3 separate regions of the Homo sapiens genome follow, and all the other regions are linked to region 1. Evidence: promoter capture Hi-C in human tissues and cell types (Jung and others, 2019). All regions are on one chromosome and are shown on one strand. The core of a region is centred on a gene start or on the middle of the fragment in contact, and the rest is flanking DNA. Distances in the headings are between cores, read along the strand shown.

Region 1 (2,962 bases), core at 97-2,596:
GCCTGCAGGGGGAGACTCGCGTCCAAGGCCGCACGGGAACCACGGCGCCCGCGAGAAAAAGCGCGGCGCCCCCTACCCCACTGCCCTCGACCTGGGAACCGCGGCACCGGCGAGTGCGCCCCGATCCCCCTGCGCAGGAAAGTCCGTTCCTCAAGCTCCGGGCTGGGGCTTTGGAAGGCAAGTCAATTCCTGACTGCTGGAAGGGCCAGGGTCTGGGGGTGCCCGGTTGTGTGTCTGCCTGCTCTTAAATTCTGGGCCTTTCTCCTTCCTTGGAAAACAAAATCTGAGTTATTTCATGACTTTAGCAAAGTACCATGGAGAATAAATTACTGGGGAAAACACTTCCTGACGCCTACTGTGTGCACGATCTAGCGCTCCCCACATAACACTGATGCCTACTGTATGCACGACCCACAGCGCTCTCCAGAAGCTCCAGGTTCAAGCTACCCGGATCACAATGGTGCCTACTGTTTGCACGACCCACAGCGCTCTCCAGATGCCCAGGGTTCCAGCCCCCCGGATCACAATGGCGCCTACTGTATGCACTACCCACAGCGTCTGCAGAGGCTCAGGGTTCAAGTTCCCGGATCACAATGGCGCCTACTGTATGCACGCCCCACAGCGCGCCCCAGATAACACTGGAGCACACTGTGTGCACGACCCTGCGCTTCCCGGACAACGCTGGCGCCTACTGTGTGCACGACCCCGCGCTCCACGGCCTCCCTGTGGGCCGAGCCCAACGTCCCCGGGGCAGCCGGCGCCGCGCAGGGTCGGGCGGGGGCGCCGTCCGGGAGGAGCCCGGGGCGCGGTATCCGCAGGCCCGGGCTCTGGCCAGGCCGCCTCCCCAGCGCGCCCCGCGGCCCTCCGGCCCCGGGACGGAACACGGGGCGGCCACTTTCCCTCAAGTTCAGCGCGGGCCGCGGCAGGGCCAGCGGGGGCAGGGCGCGCGCAGGAGGCGGCCGCCTGCTCCCTCACCCGCCTCCCGCCTCCCGCCTCAGCCGCCGCCCGGCCCAGGAAAGTAGGCCCAGCGCGCGGAGGGGCCGGGCGGCGACTCGCCCGTATCATTCCGCCCGCGCTGCGGCCCGCCCGGCCAGTCGGCGGCGGCGGCGGCCCGGGTCTGCGCGGCCCCCGCCCCCGCCCCGCCGCTCCCGGCGCCCCCCGCGCCGCATCCGGGGACTGGCAGGGCGCGGGCCCCGCACCGGCCGCCGGCGGGGCGCGAGGGCGCGGCCGCGGGCCTTACCGGAGTCGCCGCGCGCCTTGCTCTCCCTGGGCTTCGGGGGGCGGCCCCGCGGCATCGTCGGCGGCCCGGCTCGCACCCACACCCACTCACACTCACACTCACACTCACACGCGGCGGCGGGGGCGCGCACGCGCGGGCACCGGGGCGGGGGCGCGCCCAGCCGGCGCTAGAGGCGGGCGGAGCTGCCCGGCGGCGGGCGGCCCGGTCCGAGCGCCGCCGGGCTCACGGGGGAAAGGCGCCTGAACGCGCGCACCGGAGCGCTCGAACCGCGCCGGCCTTGGCAGGTTCCATGGCCCGCGGGCCGCGGTGGGGGCGTTGGGCGCGGGCGCGGGCGCGGTGGGGGCGGGGGCGGCGGCGGGGCGCATGCGCGGCGCCGCGGGGCCTTAGCGGACGGAGGGGAGCGCGGGGGTCACCGGGCCGGGCCGGCAGCCCTAGAGCTCGGCCTGGCGGGGACCCTGGGCCAGCCCCGCGCCTCCGTGGCCCGGGCGTCTCGTGCGTGTCCGCGAACTCGCGTGCGCGCGTCACCTCGGACCGCAGCATGGCTCGGAGGGCGGCCCTACTCGCGCCGCCCTAGTGCTGCGAAGGGCCTCGGAGCCCAAACCCGGAACCGCCATCTGGGACTGGGAAGACGACATGGCCAGAAGCCGGTAATGTTCCTTTCCCTGGGGGCAGTGCATTAAAATGGACCATTTCACGTGTGCTGGTCTTGTGTGTTGTTGCCTGCGCTAACTTACACGAAGTGGCAACAGGAACAGGCAGCGCAGCACCCGAGCGCCGGGTGGAGAGGCCGGCCGAGCCCGGGGAAAGCGACCTTACTCTGTCACCTGGGCTGGAGTGCAGTGGCGCAAATTAAAGTGTGCAGTTTGATACATCTTGACACATGTATACACTGTGAAACCATCATCACAATCAACAGTGAAGATGTTCCTCCCGTCTCTCTGTAACCCTTTCCTCTCTCCCTCCTTCCCTCCTCCCCCTCCCACCCATCTGCTTTTTGTCACTATAGTTTGAATTTCCTGGAGTTTTTAAATATCTTTTTATACAGACTGGGTCTCGCTTGCTCTGTCACCCAGGCGGGAGTGCAGTGACACGATCGGGACCCACTGTAGCCTCAAACTCCTGCCCTTAAGCAATCCAACTGCTTCAGCCTCCCGAGTAGCTGAGACTGCAGGTGAGGACCGCCATGTCTAGCTTTTTGTTTTTTTTTAAACATATGGGGTCTCTCTGTGTTGCCCAGCCTGCTCTGGAACTCCTAGCTTCAATTGACCCTCTGCCTCAGCCTCCCAAAGTGTTGGGATTGCAGATGTGAGCCACTGTGCCCAACCTGTTTTTCTTGGTGTTTTATATAAATGGAATTGTATCGCACGTAATCTTTAGGGAAGTGGGGGCTGTTCATTGAGCATAATTATGTTGGAATTCATCTATATATTGATAAATATTTTAAGTGCTTTTTATTGCTGAGCGGTGTCTAGGAGTCATTCTTGCTTACCCTTTCCCACTGCAGCCTTCACTCAATCTCATCAAAGATCTAGCTCCAATATATAAACCAAATCCAAGCCATTCCCACGTATATTACCCCTGAGCCATGCTCTCTCACCTAGATTACAGATACAGCCTAGTACCTGGTCATCCTCCAATCAGTTTTGTCTACAGCCATGCGAGTCTTCTCTCTATGCCTTAAATAAGACAAATGTATTCCAGCTCTTTTGAATATTTCCAATT
Region 2 (2,700 bases), core at 191-2,690, 840 kb before region 1:
AGCCTGAGGTGCTGTATCTGGAAAAGCTGCCAATGGTAGTGGTCACCCAAGGAGGGTCCTGCCAGGATAGAGCAAGTCCCCATCTCTGTATTCTTAGGATTTCATGACAACTCTGGGGGAGCCAATACTGGCCATCGCTTAACTTCTGCTTAAAAAGCAGTTTTCCTGGTTCTTGATCCAAGCCCAGCATCTGCAAGAACAAGTTATTGACAGAGAGAAATCAGAATCAGGGTGCAGGAAACCCCAAACAGTGGCTCCCTCCCAGCTCAGCAGGTCCCAAGCAGCCTACACCTTGAAAATGCACACAGGGCCAGGCGCAGTGGCTCACGCTTGTAATCCCAGCATTTTGGGAGGCCAAGGCAGGTAGATCACTTGAGGCTAGGAGTTCAAGCCCAGCCTGGTCAACATGGCAAAACCCCCTCTCTACTAAAAATACACACACACACAAACACACACATACACACACATACACATACAAATAGCTGGATGTGTTGGGACACACCTATAGTCCCTAGCTACTCAGGAGGCTGAGGCAGGAGAACTGCTTGCACCCGGGAGGCAGAGGCTGCAGTGAGCCGAGATCACCCCACTGCACTCCAGCCTGGGCAGCAGAGTGAGACTCTGTCTCACAAAAAAGGAGAAGAGAAGAAGAGGAGAGGGGAGGGGAGGGGAGGGGAGGGGGACAATTCACAGAAGAAAAGCTGATAAACACATGAAATGGCGCACAATATGATTCTTAACTAGGTCCACATTAAATAATTGAGATTCATTGTTTGACAATGGTGGCAAACTTTTTAAAAAGATGACTAACGGACAGCAATGGCAACAGTGGGAGGCAATCAATCATTTTGGCCTATTGGGAGGACTATGTATCATGATGAAAATATTTGGAGAGTAGTTAGAATTGTTTCTATATTCATTAGCATAGGCACTCTACTATAAAAAATAATTTCCCAAATCTCAGTGGCTAAATCCAACACAGTTTCCATTTCTAACTTTTATCCAGTCCAACAGAGCTGATGGCGAGGGGCAAAAGAGGACTCCACCCAGTCATTCAGGGCCCCAGGCTCCTTTCCTCAGTGACTCCATCGTGCACGAGGTAGCCCCAGCATTCTCCACTGGATCCTCTGCACCCAGCGAGAAAGAGAGATGTGCATTGGACCTGATGCTGGTGACGGCATGGAACAGCTTCCTCACAGCCAGGCTGCAGGGCTAATAGCGAGATTCTGCTGAACTCTGTAAAAACCAGGAATCGTGGATCACACCGGAAAATGATGGATGGAGAACTTTGGTCTTCATTGTTGTTGTTTCTAAAATTTATTTGTATGACTTTTTCATTGATAAACTCCCCTCTGATACCATGGCTCCTACAGCAGGTATAGCAGGGAAATGAGGCTACCTGGAGGACCCACCCTTACATGAGCAGCTCGGAGGGTGACCTCTGAACCATCTCCTCATGACGGCAGCCGTTCTGGGTCCTGCTCACAGCACAGAGGTGCAAACTTCAGACCTGGGAGTCTTGCTCTGCTGGCACTGCCCTTCATGTTTACATTATACTTTCACTAATTTTTTTTTTTTTTTTGGTCCACGCACTTAATTGCTTCCTCACTAACATACCTTGGGACTGGTTATAATCCTTCTCTATGGAGATATGTTTGCTATCTGATGCTTTCTCAGGACAGAGCTGCAATTTTAGCTAAATTACCAAGCTCTTCAAAGTGATGCAATTGGGAACATTCAGACAGTTGAAAAATGGCCCAGAAAGCACGAAAGATTCATTAAAGCACCTGGTGTCTGCCTGGAGCTGTGTTACATGGAGAAAACACCAAATCCAATAGAGCAACTTCTTTCCCCAAGGAGCTCCAAGCCTAGAAAATAAGATAGACGAAACAACAATGATGGTGCAATTTCTGTCTCATCTACGCAGCCAAAACTCAGCAACGCCACAATTTAAGTTTCCCTCCACTTCATTTGCTCTGAGATGCTTGTTAGTTGCTAGTTGCACTTCCACAGGAGGCTTCAGCCCCATTCAAATGCATAGCATATTTCCTACAGAAATTCTGCCCTCGTAAGCTGGATCTCTCGTAGTACACCCCCTTCCACTGTCCTGACTTCCCCTCCGTGGCACCTCCATGACAATTGCAGAACACCCGGCGAATAACGGTGCACCTGCAGGTTCATTTTACTACCTGTGTTCTGCAGACATAGAGAAAGGCCGCATCTTTAGTTTATCTTGTAACTGAGCCATCTTTTTCTTGTGTGAAATGCAGCATTGTGCTCGCAATGTTTTTTTTCAAGTGCTAACCTTACTTCCTGTTTAATATTAACTGGTTTTCTTCTCTTGCTTAGGAAAGTTAAGCTTTTGAGTTTTTATTCTTTCCTCATCTATGGGCGTTTTCTCTATCATGCAAATGACAGTAGATAATACCCTCATGACTACAAGGTTACCACTTTGTGACCACATATTATGGTTCTGAAATTCAAACTACGCTCTTTGGTATCATCTGTTTTCTCCATTTTGTCATTGGTTCAGTAGCAGCTTTGATAGTTCTGTCTCCAAAAATTCTGGTACTCCTTGTATCTTTATGTGTCCCTTTCTCTACTCAGTGGGATGTGTTGGAGACTTTTCCTCCAGCCCCTTTCCCAGGAGCAAGCAAGCTTGCCCTTCACAAAGCTGGTGCATGCTCTAGCAAACCCTGT
Region 3 (2,951 bases), core at 361-2,860, 870 kb before region 1:
CAGACAGACTGACAGAACCTTTAGAGCACCGGCAGGCCGCCCACAGTCAGACAGACAGACAGACAGAACCTTTAGAGCACCGGCAGGCCGCCCGCAGTCAGACAGACAGACAGACAGAGCCTTTAGAGCGCCGGCAGGCCGCCCACAGTCAGACAGACAGACAGAGCCTTTAGAGCGCCGGCAGGCCGCCCCACAGTCAGACAGACAGACAGAGCCTTTAGAGCGCCGGCAGGCCGCCCCACAGTCAGACAGACAGACAGACAGAGCCTTTAGAGCGCCGGCAGGCCGCCCACAGTCAGACAGACAGAGAGACAGAGCCTTTAGAGCGCCGGCAGGCCGCCCAGAATCAGACAGACAGACTGAGCCTTTAGAGCACCGGCAGGCCGCCCACAATCGGACAGATAGGGGATGGAGGGCCCCTAAGCCCCAACAAGACCTCTGCCTTGGCCAGAATCAAGTTGACCAAGAAAAAGAAAGCAATCGATAAATGGTGTCTGAATAAGGAGAACGGAATCCCCAATGGGCCCCCAAAAGGCAGATTCTCTGTAACAACAGTAAGAGACATTTTTTTTTTTAAATCAAACTCCTTCTATAGCTACTGCTGAAGGAAAAGGAGTTTTCCAAAGAGTATTTTGAGAGCTATGTGAACCTATCAGCAGCAGGGAAAATTTGCAGATGTAGATGGAGTCACAACTCTGCTCAAAATATGCTGCAGCAGATGAGAACAAAACTCAGAACCAGAGGAGCAGAGATTTACTTTGAAATCTGAACACTGACCAGTCCAGCTCTGCTGCTGATACAACCCCCATCTTCTGTTAAGTGGTTCGTACTCAGAATTCATGCAATGCCTAAAACTTGTCTAAGAGCTTTAAATATTCGAGTTAAAAAAGATATCATCTGTCTTCTACAAAAAAATAGCATCCACCATAGAAAAGGCAGGTGCAGGACGTGAGACTGCAGTGCCTAGGGGAAAGTGTGGAAACAGAGACCAGCACGTTTCCCATTAAAATATGTCTAACAGCAAGGAATGAGAAAAGCAGCAATGATTACACTACCCAACCCAGGAGTACAAGGCTGGCCATCTCAGCCACTGGACAGGGAGTCTGCAACACAAAGCCAAGGCCACCAGGATGAGGTGCAACCTGGGCTGAGAGAGGCAATGCCCCCATAAATGGAACAAAGCAGTTGCATTGAAGAAAAGTCAAAAGTTCTGTCTTCCTCCATGATTCCCTTCCTCCCTGGTTAAAAAAAAAAAAAATAGAAATCCTGAGGAAAATGAGATACACAAGACAGAAAGACAGGGCAGACATTTATCTACTCTACCAGGGCCAAGTGTCCAAGCTGGTGACACGCTTGCTGTTGGTTCCCAATGGTGGCACCACATGGCATGTGTTTCTCTGTGTGTATGAGTTCTCTAGAGTGAGAGATTTTACTATATTAGTAAAATCTGAGACTTCAAGTGTGTGTATCTGCAATTTCACCTATTTTTTGCAAAGTTGTTTTTAATCATTTCTATCCTCTCTGTCAGTGTATAAGCACACTTATTGATCCATAATTTCGTCAATGATTGTTATCATTAGGTGTCGTTAAGCTTTTGTATAATCCAGATTTTAGATTAGTATATAATTTCTCTTATCTTGATTGTTAGTTATTTGATTTATTTATGCTCTATACTTTACTCTCTACTTTTTTAAAATTTTATTTATTCATTTATTCACAGAGGCTGTGAGGCTTGCAGTTCATGTGTCTGATGATTGATCTGTAATCTTTACCCAGGTTAAAATAATAAAATATAGAAAAAAAGGGAAGATTGAGCCTAGATCTCTCCAAATAGTCAAGATGTGGCATTGGTTAATAGAGTAGAGTTGACAAAAGACTCAACAGAGTTTTGGGTGACTTTGAGGCTTCAGTCTTCTCTCAGCACATCCGTAGATGATGCGTGTATTAGTCTATTCTCACACTGCTATAAGAACCTACCTGAGACTGGGTAATTTATGAAGAAAAGAGATTTAATTGACTCCCAGTTCCACTGGCTGTACAGAAAGCATGGCTGGGAGGCCTCAGGAAACATACAATCATGGCAGAAGGTGAAGAGGAAGCAGGCACATCTTACCATGGCAGAGCAGGAGAGAGAGAGCAAAAGGCAGGTGCTATACACTTTCAAACAACCAGATCTCATGAGAACTCAATCACGGGACAGCACTAGGGGGATAGTGCTAAACCATTAGACATCATCCCCATGGTCCAGTCACCTCCCGCCAGGCTCCACCTCCAACATTGGTCATTACAATTCAACATGAGATTTGGGTGAGGACACAAAGCCAAACCATTTCAATGTGCATTGCTTCCCCAGTGCCATCGACCTGGTACACATAGAAAATGATGATATTTGCATATTTGATATTATGACACACATAAAAAATGGCAATATTTTCACAAGGCACTGGGAAAACTAGACGAGATTGCTCAAGATGGGAGATCAGCCTAGGGTTCCTGGTAGACACAGGCACCACTCAGCTACCCTAAGAGCTGAAAACATATTTAACCATACATGCAAGACCATGGACGATTGGCCAGGAAGTTCTGATTTGATTCTAAATCCTACAAGTGCCAGAATTCTGAGTCTTTCCTACCCAGTATTTGGGGAATATGTTTTTCTTGGTCTGATGTTAATGACGATAATTATAATTTAGAATTAAGTGTTTACTATGTCTTAGGTCTAAGGGCTTTATTTGTATTCCTTCATTTAACGTTTACAAAAATCCTCTCAAGTAGGTACGCCTCTATCCTTATTTTACAGTTGAGGAGATTGAAGGACAAAGAGTTTAAGTAACTTGCCCAAAATCATCAGGTGGTTAATGGTAAGGATGGGATAAAGTCCAGGTCATTGGGAGCTGAGGACATAATCTGAATTGCTAGGCTGGCTACCTCTGATGGTGCACGCTTCCTGA

The links. The method cuts DNA at HindIII sites, captures the fragments that hold promoters and counts their contacts. A contact is called where the count stands out against the background at its distance.
Region 2: a contact is called between a fragment that was not itself captured here and the fragment with the promoter of ZNF236 in region 1, in 1 of the 25 tissues and cell types used here (dorsolateral prefrontal cortex).
Region 3: a fragment that was not itself captured here is called in contact with the fragment with the promoter of ZNF236 in region 1 in 1 of the 25 tissues and cell types used here (lymphoblastoid cells).

What each region holds. Positions count from the first base shown.
Region 1 is chr18:76,820,941-76,823,902 of GRCh38, reverse strand. ZNF236 (zinc finger protein 236) reads right to left here and starts at 1,346. Exons shown (of 31, transcript NM_001306089.2): 1 at 1,241-1,346. The coding sequence starts at 1,295. ZNF236-DT (ZNF236 divergent transcript) reads left to right here and starts at 1,608. Exons shown (of 3, transcript NR_040024.1): 1 at 1,608-1,887. RefSeq lists silencers at 715-1,454, 1,575-1,764 and enhancers at 1,835-1,944, 1,985-2,064. The HindIII fragment of the contact is 16,105 bases long and covers 1-2,962 here.
Region 2 is chr18:77,664,981-77,667,680 of GRCh38, reverse strand. No RefSeq gene overlaps it. Among named protein-coding and RNA genes, the nearest start is that of LINC01029, 330 kb to the left of the region's middle. The HindIII fragment of the contact is 5,019 bases long and covers 1-2,700 here.
Region 3 is chr18:77,687,753-77,690,703 of GRCh38, reverse strand. No RefSeq gene overlaps it. Among named protein-coding and RNA genes, the nearest start is that of LINC01029, 300 kb to the left of the region's middle. The HindIII fragment of the contact is 5,257 bases long and covers 1-2,951 here.